Linked DNA regions of Homo sapiens: all the other regions are linked to region 1. Evidence: promoter capture Hi-C in 16 types of primary human blood cells and fetal thymus (Javierre and others, 2016). All regions are on one chromosome and are shown on one strand. The core of a region is centred on a gene start or on the middle of the fragment in contact, and the rest is flanking DNA. Distances in the headings are between cores, read along the strand shown. Region 1 holds the start of FUNDC1 (FUN14 domain containing 1). Region 2 holds the start of DIPK2B (divergent protein kinase domain 2B). Region 3 holds the start of NDP (norrin cystine knot growth factor NDP). Region 4 overlaps DIPK2B (divergent protein kinase domain 2B).

Region 1 (2,700 bases), core at 183-2,682:
GTCCTCTTGCCAGGTCAGGAATTACGAGGTTTCTAGGCCTTTCTTTACCTCCTTTGGATTCCTGGCAGGAACTCAAGAGAGAGAGCAGGTAAACAGATTCCAACTTCTAGCAGCAGGGCATTAGAAAACTTGTGGTCCCTTTGTGAGCGCTTGCGCCCTTAGAAAAGTATGGCTTGAAACAGGGTTTCTCTTATCTTTTACAAGCCTTTTTCCTCAAGCATTTGAATTCTGGTAATGTTCAAAATACTGTTAAAAAATTATTCTGACAGTATGCAAGTGATGGGCCTGACAAAAAAATTATGGGACACTTCTTAAAATGGTAAGGAAGACTTTGTTCATGACTACTGCAATAGGTATCACAACTATTGCAATACAGCCTGGCATGGTGGCTCACATCTGTAATCCCAGCACTTTGGGAGGCAGAGGCAGGAAGACTGCTTGAGCCCAGAAGTTTAAGAGCAGCCTGGGCAACACAGGGAGACCTACTCTCCACAAAAAATAAAAATAAATTAGCCGGGAGTGGTGATGCACGCCTGGAGTCCTGGGTACTCTGGAGGCTGAGGTGGGCCGATCTCTTGGGCCCAGGAGTTTGAGGCTGCAGTGAGCCATGATAGCGCCACTGCACTCCAGCCTGGTGACAGAGCAATACCTTTTCTCATAAAACAAAGACTATGGCAATAGGGGTGAGTGATGGGTCTCAACTCTGAATACAGCAGGGAATTTATAGTAAATGATCAGAGTGAATGGATCAATGGGTGGAAGATTACCAAGAGTAGACATGAAGGGTAGGGGTATTCTTGCTAAAGCCAATTTAACAGGATTTTTGCTGGTGGCAGAGTGATCAGATATCAAGAGTGGGGTTGAGGAATTCGATCGGATATTGAGGGTGATTCGATATTAAGGGTGGGGGAGTTCTTACTAAACTGACTTAACTGCATTCTTACCACAAATGGACTAGGCAGGTCAAAGACGACCCAAGGAGGAGACCCAGTCAAAAACAGCTCAGAGGAGCCTCCTGACTAAAGTTTGGTCAAGGAGAGAGTCTTTGTCAATACCCAGCTGGTTCTCCCTTTGTACCACCATGTGGCGCCCTTCACCCCATTCCTTCAGCCCTTAAGGCTCTTTTAAAACAAAATAATCAAATTCAAGTTACGGAAATTCTAGGAGGGGCGGTCCCTCCCCCTTCCTAGTTGCGGAAGGCAACGGACTACAAGTCCCCTACGCTCTCGCGGGGCTATGATCCGCCCGGCCCTCCCCACATTCCGGAGTTTCGCGCCTGCGCAGAAGGCAGAAGGTCCTGCGCTGAGAGAAGGGGGCGGAGACAGGACTACGCGCCTGGAGTAGGAGAAGGAGGAAAAAAGAGACCATAGACTTCCATCCTGGCCTAGAGCGGCCCTTAAAGTGCCAGGGAGAGGAGGGCGGGTGGGGACCACTCCAGAATTGGCCGCTGGCGGTATCATGGCGACCCGGAACCCCCCTCCCCAAGGTGAGCGGCCAGGGCCCGAAGTGGTATCTGGGACGCGGCTCACAGCTCTCGACCTTGCTCCTATGGCACCTCTTCCTTCCCCTGCCCTAGGATTCTTCGAGCTCCATTTTTTTTTTAAGGCAGCCCCTTCGAGCACCCCCTCCGAGCTAGACTTTTTCCTCCCCTCTCTGCGGAACTCAAGCGGAGAGCCACCCCCACCCCCAGCACAGCCCTACCTGCCTCCTGCCTTACCTTCACCTCCGGCCCTTCATCTCCCATCTTCAAATGTATTATTTTCTTTTTTTAAACGTCTGGACTCAAGTGATTTCGCTGAGCTCCAGACTAGTTCTCTCAGGAGGACCCCTCCCCACCCCCATTCCTCCCACTGATGAAAATGGACCCTGCTCTGACCTTGACCCTACTAAGGTTTGGAGGTGGGGGTGACCCCTCACTACTGTGTCATTCTGAGTTGGCCCTGGCTTCGTGACCCCAGGCTGGTCCCCGGGCCTTTGGGAAAGCAGATGGGGGTCATTGTTGCAGGGTCCTTTACTCTTGAGGCCCTGGTCTCAAGAATTGAGTTAAATAAAGTCAGTAGTTTCTATGTGGGCATTTTTAGCTGTAGGCCAGAACTAATGAGTTGTAACAGATTTTTAAAAAGATGTATAGAACATTTCTGACTTTTGATTGACTCTACATTTATTTTTTGCATTTTGCTATTTTGAAGACTATGAAAGTGATGACGACTCTTATGAAGTGTTGGATTTAACTGAGTATGCAAGAAGACACCAGTGGTGGAATCGAGTGTTTGGCCACAGTTCGGGACCTATGGTAGAAAAATACTCAGTAGCTACCCAGATTGTAATGGGTGGCGTTACTGGCTGGTGAGAACAACGTCTTTTTCATTAAATTTCATTTGGGGGCCTGACACTGCTGTCCTTTCATACATGGGCAAGAATCACCGTGCACAGGCAGTAGGTCTACACTGTTAATTCCAGAAGAGGCTTTTCTCTGAGTTAAAATTGATGTAATCTACATTCCCAGGCTCCCTGTTGAGTTTTGGCGATCCCCTCCCCCATGCCCACCACTGTTCCTCTTCTCCCTCCTCATCCTTCTTTTGATTCTTTATATAATTTCCCCATTCTCATGTTCAGCAAATGTCGTGGATCTGATTCAGTGATAGTAGATAGGAAGAAATATATGAGTTAATTATATGTAAATTTTTACATTTCATTCAG
Region 2 (2,700 bases), core at 3-2,502, 660 kb before region 1:
TTGCAAGCCACATATCCAACAGAGGACTCGGATCTAGAATATATAAACAAGCGTCAAAACTCACCAATAAAAAGCAAACATGACCAGACATTTTACTGAGGAAGCTATACAAATGCTAATAAGCACGTGCTTCATCATCAGAAAATTGCCTTTACCTGCTCTTCCCACCAATCTTTAGCAAAACTTGTCAATTGTCCAGAGGCAATCCCCACTCCCTCTTACCTCCCTTTTCCTCACCCCCAGCCCCATCTTCCTATGCACTTTCTCATATTTTCAAACCGTGCCCCGCTCCCCACCTCCACCCTCTCACAGAATGTGAGGCAGCCTGACTTCCCTGATTTGGTTCTCAGAGGTTCTCTCTACTCCCAAATTAGCACTTCCATCTACTCCATGCTGCGGACCTTATCTTGGTATCCTGAGGAAGGCAATCCTGGGGCAGTTAAATCCTACCAAATCCGGCCAAGCCACCCCGAGAAGTGAAGCAAGTTGGTAAAGGAAGAGAAGCTTTCAGGTCTGTGGGAGAGGGATAGACACAGCTGTGTGCTGTCAGAGGGCTCTTTCTGGTGCTCCCCTCATCATGCCACAGAGGCCACCGGGTTCTTTCTGGTCTCTTGTTCTCAGACCAGCAAGAGAAGATGGACTAACCTGAGGTTTTCTCTTCCCTAAGCAGCAAAAAGCTTTCAAATCAGTGCTAAATGTGCCAGTTAATGGCAAGCAAGCTAACCTCTAGTTATTTCACAGGCAAATATGGTAAAAGTGGGGGAAGGAGGGCTGATTAAGGGGCAGGACAAATGACCTAGCACAGAGGGGTCAAAAATTGGGGTGCACGTGTAATCCATAGGGACAGATAAACCTGGAATTAAAACAGTGGAGGGTGGAGGCTTTCAGGATCCTTTGAAACTCCCAGGTGGAACGCAGGTTGGACACACATCCTGCATGGACCTTTCCTGCCCTGCCGGGATATCCTGTGTTTGTCAAAAGGACCACACAGGGAAGCCCTGACAATTGTCCTTCCCGAAATCTGCCAGCGAGCCCCTCCCCAGCCTGAAGCAGCCACCCCCGGCAAAGGAAGAGTAACTCTGGAAACAGCGTTATCAGCATCCTCCACTGACTTCCTCACCTCCTCCCCAGCCTCATTAGCCCCAAGCTCCTCAGCATCCTCAAAGAGAAACCTGGGAGGCTGGGATGGGGTCAGCACCCAGAAGCCAGCCCCCTCTGACAGCTTCCTCTTTGGCCAAGCCCTGCCTCTGTACAGCCTCGAGTGGACAGCCAGAGGCTGCAGCTGGAGCCCAGAGCCCAAGATGGAGCCCCAGCTGGGGCCTGAGGCTGCCGCCCTCCGCCCTGGCTGGCTGGCCCTGCTGCTGTGGGTCTCAGCCCTGAGCTGTTCTTTCTCCTTGCCAGCTTCTTCCCTTTCTTCTCTGGTGCCCCAAGTCAGAACCAGCTACAATTTTGGAAGGACTTTCCTCGGTCTTGATAAATGCAATGCCTGCATCGGGACATCTATTTGCAAGAAGTTCTTTAAAGAAGAAATAAGGTCAGAATATCAATCAAATAACTCTGAATCACAAAATTCTGTTCCCTTCTTGTGAAGATGTCCAGGAATTTGTTGAAAAGGAATCAGGATGTAATATGGGTGGGAGCTGAAACAAATCCATTTAATCAGAGTGGTAATGGTCTGAAGTTGGGGTGGGTAAGAGGGCAAGATGTGAAGCCAAATTCCAGCCCTAAATGCTAAATCCAACATTTCCTTTTGAACTGAAAGCTTGAAGTTTTCTTTCCTATGAATGGAGTAGCCTGGGACTGTTGAGTTTATCAAGTTCATTTCTCACAGTGGGCGGGAAATAAAATTTATAGAAAGCCTACAATGTGACACCTATTTTAAATCATTGTGAGAGTTAATGGTGTTCCCCCATTATTGAGGTGGTAAGCTGAGACATAGCCAGATAAAGTGACTTCAGTGGGGGGAAATGGGTAACTCTGTGAGATGATGGGACCCATTTCACTATATATATGTATCTTACAACATCGTGTTGTATACTTTAAATATACACAATAAAATTTATTTTTTAAAAAAGATTAAGTAACTTGCACAAGGTCACCACCGAATAAGTAGCAGCTGTGGAATTCAAACCAGGACGGTTTGCTCCAAAGTTTCTGAGCCAGCTTTCTGTTGTGAGAGATTGCCTTGATCAGAGGAAAACTGGAGCTTAGTAAATTGCAATGCACATGGCTCTCAGCAAAGAATGGCATCACACTTGGAATTTAAGCCTATCAACACACAGTCCATGAGCCTTTACCACAGCCAAACTCTAGCAGGTACTGGGGTGACAGCAACTATAACTCTGGTCATTGCCTTCCTGGAGGTCAGGACAAGGGGGTCATGTTATAAATAATAATAATAAGGCTTTGTCTGATGCAGGGCAGTGTAAAGGACCTCCAGGAGCTCCATTAATTCCAAATGGGAACTGGGGAAGGGCTTCCCCAGGAGAAGGTATTCTGAGCAAAGCCTTTTAAAGGATGAGCTGAAAAGTAACGGGAAGTGAAGGGCTTAAGGTGGAAGTAACATCTTAAGCAAAGGTGTGGGAAGAAGTGAGAGGTGCTTAGCTAGAGCATGGGGTGTATGTGGAGGCATGACAGAGGAGGAGGTTGAAGGGATATATGGGGCAGGGGGTCTTTAATTGCCATGCCAAGGAATTGGGG
Region 3 (2,700 bases), core at 119-2,618, 570 kb after region 1:
TTTTCCAAGTGGAGCATAAGAAAAGGGATTTCTGGCAATAAAACTGAAAGTTTTAAGACACCTCTTGCAAATATCAGTGACTGGAGTAAAGGTCCCATGGAAAAGTAATAAGGTGAATGTAAATTTATTAATGAATAACAAATAGTTTGATACAGAGTTGAACAAGACAGTTTCAGCATCAACAATTACATGAAGCTCCCAAGAAAAATTTCTTTTTGAGTTTTATAATGTATTATTTTTTCCACGAAATATATATATTTTAAATTCTCAGTTTAATTCTTCATCAGTAGTATTAATAAAACAAATTATTCTGGGTCTGATTTACCTGACATAAAATAATTATTAAATGTTCTTTGTATTTTCCTCCAAAATCCCTGACGGTTTTCTGTGTTAATTTTAAGCTTTCAAAGGGCAAGAATTATGAAATATTTGCCTTTGTAGTCCCACAGCTCATAACACAGCATGATTCAGCTGCAGGTATTTAACCCACACACATAGTTACCTTTGTCACTTTTCTACTAGTTGTTGTGTAATGGGTTAGCTTTATCTATTAGTTTCTCCTTCATATAGCTCAAGGAGTCAAGGAATACACGTTCTCATTGTTTCTAAATCAGACCTAAAGTTTTATTCTAAATGATGCAGATGAAGGGGCTTATTAAAGTGCCATTGTGAATTTAATCATGTATATGCTGCTAAAAATCATTTAATGGATGAACAACCCGGAAAAAAAGAACTCTCACCACCCACACACATCGTGATAAAATAGGGCAGCGTTTTGCACTTGCTTTAACAGCATCGCCTGAGAAAAAAATTTCTGGTTCCCATCTTTCCCCTCTCTTACTTAAAATTTCAACTTCATCACAGTCAGCTGCCGAATCGTTCAACAGAATGCCACACTGCCTTTGTATTTCCAAAACTATACGTCTCTATTGCGGACGGCACATCTTTATGGCAGCCACATGCTTGAAAAAGAATTAAATTCAGAATATTCATTTGGCCTCTTATTAGTTCCATAATACCATTAAAAAAGAAAGAAAGAAAGAAACTTCCTCGCCCTTGTTCTGCTACGCTGTTCCCATCGTAAGATGCTCCGTGGAAGGGAGCCGAGCGGTGGGCAGAGGCTGAGTCCCCGATAACGAGCGCCTCACATTTCCGTGGCATTCCCATTTGCTAGTGCGCTGCTGCGGCCGCACGCCTGATTGATATATGACTGCAATGGCACTTTTCCATTTGACATTCTCTCTCTCTCTCTCCCTCTCTCTCTCTCCCTCTCTCTCTCCCTCTCTCTCTCTCCCTGTGTCGCTTAAACAACAGTCCTAACTTTTGTGTGTTGCAAATATAAAAGGCAAGCCATGTGACAGAGGGACAGAAGAACAAAAGCATTTGGAAGTAACAGGACCTCTTTCTAGCTCTCAGAAAAGTCTGAGAAGAAAGGAGCCCTGCGTTCCCCTAAGGTAAGCAGGAAAACAAGCGCTGCCGGCTTGCCTAGGAAATCGCTTCTTTCCAAACCGAGCATTTCATCCTCCTCTCAGACAAAGAGACAACCTTTAAATACCACTTAAATTTGCATTACTTTAATTTGCATTAATCTGTAGCATGCTAGCATTGTGTTTCTTAAATGAACGGGTCTTTGAAGTCTGTGACAGAGCAGGGAGCCTCCTAGAAAAGCTTGAAAATATCTTTTGGTTTGACTTAAAGAGATTTTTCTTTTCAAACTCTCTGCGTAGTTAGATGTAACTTTGTGATGGTTCTTATAGTTGACCCCGTGAAAGGGGGCTGCGAAGCAGCAACTTGCCAACATGGATTCATGGAGCCCAGTATCTTCCCCAGCACCCTCATCCCACTTACAATGGGGGCACTATTAACGCAGGCAAGACTGCGAGTTTAAAAGCGCACTGTTTACTTTTATTACTACTTATGTATGCTGCTGATCTCCTGCCAGGGCTCTGCCGGAGTGCTCAGAATGACTTCAAACAATAGGCAACATTTATTTCTAGCTTTCTGTGTCACGCTTTGCAGGAATCCTGCTCCCTTGCACTCTTCTTTCAGCGTGCAGGTCTTCGCTTCCATAGATGCATTGGGGAGCACCGGGAGGAGATGAGGATGGATTTACTGTATGATTTTGATTGGGCAAAAAGTCCGAGGAAATGCATGCTGTTTGCCTTGGACTTATTGCAGGGGGTTATTTTTAGTCATCAGCTCGTCCCTGCAGCATGATGTTCAAGGAGTGACCGGGAAAGGATGCTCCCACCAGCACAGAGACCAGGACCTGTAGGAATGACTCCTACCTGCGGGATATTCCGAGGTTTCTTTCAAACTTTGGAATACAAGTTCTCTCTTTAAATGAACAATTGAGCTGTAGGAGGCCTGGGCATAACTCTTTCTTGGGGGACGGGAAGTTTGATTGTGTACAGAATGTTAATGACTCAGAACGCCCAGTAACTGAGGCTCATTGTAATAGACAAACCCAGATAAGCCTCCATGAGAGGCAGACTCCCATCTTTACTGAGATTCAGGTGCGGGAAAGGAAGCTATTTGGCAAGATGGGAGTCCCTTGTACAGTTCTTTGTAACTCATTAATAACAGATATGGCTGCTGTGAAACATGTCTCTTTTCATTTCTAATATTAGTGTATTTTAATTACAAGGAGCTGGCATTGGCAAATTACCCCAACACATAAGATTAAATACCAGGTGCATT
Region 4 (2,722 bases), core at 124-2,623, 640 kb before region 1:
ATCTCAACATTTGTGGCAAAGAGGTTACTTGGAATGGGTCAGAGACTAACCTGCTCATTTCCAAATTCCATTGTGTCACAGTCTCATAGAAAAGGGACTAATAATCACCCACTGTGCCCACTCAAATTACCCCTAAATTATTCTTGATGGAGCTCACGAATGAAAATGAGACAGTCGGCCGGGCGCGGTGGCTCACGCCTGTAATCCCAGCACTTTGGGAGGCCGAGGCGGGCGGATCACGAGGTCAGGAGATCGAGACCATCCTGGCTAACATGGTGAAACTCTGTCTCTACTAAAAATACAAAAAATTAGCCAGGCGTGGTGGCAGGCACCTGTAGTCTCAGCTACTCGGGAGGCTGAGGCAGGAGAATGGTGTGAACCCAGGAGGCGGAGGTTGCAGTGAGCCGAGACTGCGCCACTGCACTCCAGCCTGGGCAACAGAGCGAGACTCCATCTCAAAAAAAAAAAAAAAAAGAAAAGAAAAGAAAGAAAATGAGACAGTGAAAGGCTTCCCCAGTCCTGACACAGACAAGTTGAGAAAGAAAAAGGAGGCAAGAGAAGACTAGGGGAAAGATAGACATGAGACAAGTCACCAGTGGCTCCTTCCAGATGATGCTCAAATACAGAATACAGGCCGCCCCCAGCCAAAACGTAACCGAAGCCTGAATAATCATCAGAACAAACAATACAAAGCAAGCTTTGCTTTTACAGGGCTTTAAGCTTTCCCTAAACTTAGATGTTACCAATCAAGCCCCTTTTTTAAAAAATCAAGGCATCCTTTGTTCTATACAATTCTTCCTTTGATATCTCATTACCTCTATCCTGATGTACTCAGAAAAAAATGCTTTTGCCGTTAAGTGTGACTTGGCCCAGAGGCCTCTGGATTGGCTGTCCCTCTATGCATGTCCACATGCTATGAAGGAATCAAAGGTTAAACTATATAATATATAGTATTTATCTATAAAGAAAGTCACTTGGAAGACATCAGTTAATATAGTGATTGTGTTCTAACACAATATTTGTGGCCTAATAAGCAGAACTTAACCACTATATCAATTGATTGTGCTACCGTGATTGTGTTCTGTGTATTAAGCCACAAAACCCCTCAATACATTTTTTAAAGTAGAAATATTAAAGATCATTTTATCTAATCAAAAGAGAATCACATCAGACATTAACTATAATAGGAAAAAAAAATACCAAAGCAGAAATGTAAAAACATTATCTTTTGAGCCACAGAGCAAATAATTGAAATTGTAATAATATCAGGATAATAACAATGATGAAAACTCTATATTTCCCCAAACTATGATTTAGCCTTTGCCAAATCACTGCTCAGAGGAAAATTGAAAATCAATCCAGGGTTCTGTTAGGCTGCTGTTGACACAAGTTCGGTCATTAATGTGGAGAAATAATACAAAAAGATATTAAAAACGCATATTAATTTGTTCCTAACTCAAGGCCACTTATGGCAGTAATAATTTTTACAATTGTGTTAGCGCTTCTCTCTTAGGATTATCAAGAGGTCTGTGGAAGGCATAATTTATAAACCTTTTGTGTGGGTTAAGCAGGGAATAAATATATTTATTCCTGGTTTATATATGAGAGCAAACCACAGAGCAATATATCAATTTGTTAAAGATCAAAATCTATTTCTACTTACTGAATTACACATATGTCATAGATTCTTGGGGTTGAAATAAATTTGAAAGCTCAGCAATTTGAACTCTAACATATTTGCATCCTTTCTGTAAGGCAAAGGGTCATCTACCGTATCATACAGTGACAGGAAACTCACTACCTTCAGCTTATGCCTTCTTTGGACAGAACAGATACTTGGAAAGTTCATCCCAAATCTGTCTTCTTGTAGCTCTCACTTATGTAAAGTATTTCTACGCCCTGGAATCATACAGATTATACATGACATATGCCCTCCCATACACGCAGCTCCTAAATCCTGGCTTCCCCATTGTAAACATCCCCAGTTCTCTTTTTCATCTCGGCATTCCTCTCATATTGAAGCTTCTTAAATGTTATGTCAACTGAAACCCCTTCTGTAGCTAGATTTTAGTTCACAAGGACAGAACCTTTTGTTTATCCTGTTATATATGATCTTCTTATATTAAATCCATTATTCTAGCCTGTCAACTTGTTTCTGATACTTATCATACCCCGTATCACCCCAAGTACATATTATTCTCAGTTTTGATGAACACAATTTTTATCTATGTCTTAGTCCTCTATAAAAATGTTAACCAGAACAGGGCCAAATAAAAAGCTTTCTTTCTCTATAGGGGTTAATCCGTTAGTTGTTAGGTAAACTCAGTTAACCAATTACTAATCATCTTAATTTTTCTATGCAGCCCAAATCTTGTTTCCCCTTTTGTTTTATAGGGGTCTCATGAGAATCACTGTTGAATGCTTCACTAAAGTTCATATATTCTGTCTATTGAATTTCTCTGATTAAAAATCAAACTACCAGGTCAAAGAAAAAAAAGTTGTTAGTCTGGAATGATTTGATTAAAAGAATCCTCAGTGACTCCTTAAGATCATCATTTCCCCATCTGGAGGCTCACAAATTATCCTATGAATAACCTGTTTTAGAATATTTCCTGTGATCCAGGATCAGCCCACTAATCACTAATTTGTGAAATCTACCCTCTTGCTCTTTTTAAATATCAGAAATGGATTTTCATGCCTTTTCTGTTCTCTGCATTCACTG

The links. Contacts are between HindIII fragments. The CHiCAGO score rates a contact against its expected background, and 5 or more counts as called.
Region 2: a contact is called between the fragment with the promoter of DIPK2B here and the fragment with the promoter of FUNDC1 in region 1, in 3 of 17 cell types (neutrophils, endothelial precursors and monocytes). The highest score is 6.0, in neutrophils.
Region 3: the fragment with the promoter of NDP here is called in contact with the fragment with the promoter of FUNDC1 in region 1 in 11 of 17 cell types (total CD4 T cells, non-activated CD4 T cells, naive CD8 T cells and 8 more); the score reaches 12.9 in total CD4 T cells.
Region 4: a fragment that was not itself captured here is called in contact with the fragment with the promoter of FUNDC1 in region 1 in 1 of 17 cell types (total B cells); the score reaches 5.1 in total B cells.

What each region holds. Positions count from the first base shown.
Region 1 is chrX:44,541,591-44,544,290 of GRCh38, reverse strand. FUNDC1 (FUN14 domain containing 1) reads left to right here and starts at 1,432. Exons shown (of 5, transcript NM_173794.4): 1 at 1,432-1,486; 2 at 2,190-2,346. The coding sequence starts at 1,459. RefSeq lists enhancers at 1,048-1,107, 1,118-1,167, 1,348-1,737. The HindIII fragment of the contact is 14,705 bases long and covers 1-2,700 here.
Region 2 is chrX:45,199,428-45,202,127 of GRCh38, reverse strand. It overlaps DIPK2B (divergent protein kinase domain 2B), which reads left to right and starts at 1,252. Exons shown (of 5, transcript NM_176819.4): 1 at 1,252-1,534. The coding sequence starts at 1,302. The HindIII fragment of the contact is 1,085 bases long and covers 680-1,764 here.
Region 3 is chrX:43,972,058-43,974,757 of GRCh38, reverse strand. NDP (norrin cystine knot growth factor NDP) reads left to right here and starts at 1,368. Exons shown (of 3, transcript NM_000266.4): 1 at 1,368-1,454. The HindIII fragment of the contact is 1,267 bases long and covers 404-1,670 here.
Region 4 is chrX:45,183,406-45,186,127 of GRCh38, reverse strand. All of the region lies in intron 2 of DIPK2B (divergent protein kinase domain 2B), which reads left to right. Among named protein-coding and RNA genes, the nearest start is that of DIPK2B, 16 kb to the left of the region's middle. The HindIII fragment of the contact is 1,302 bases long and covers 723-2,024 here.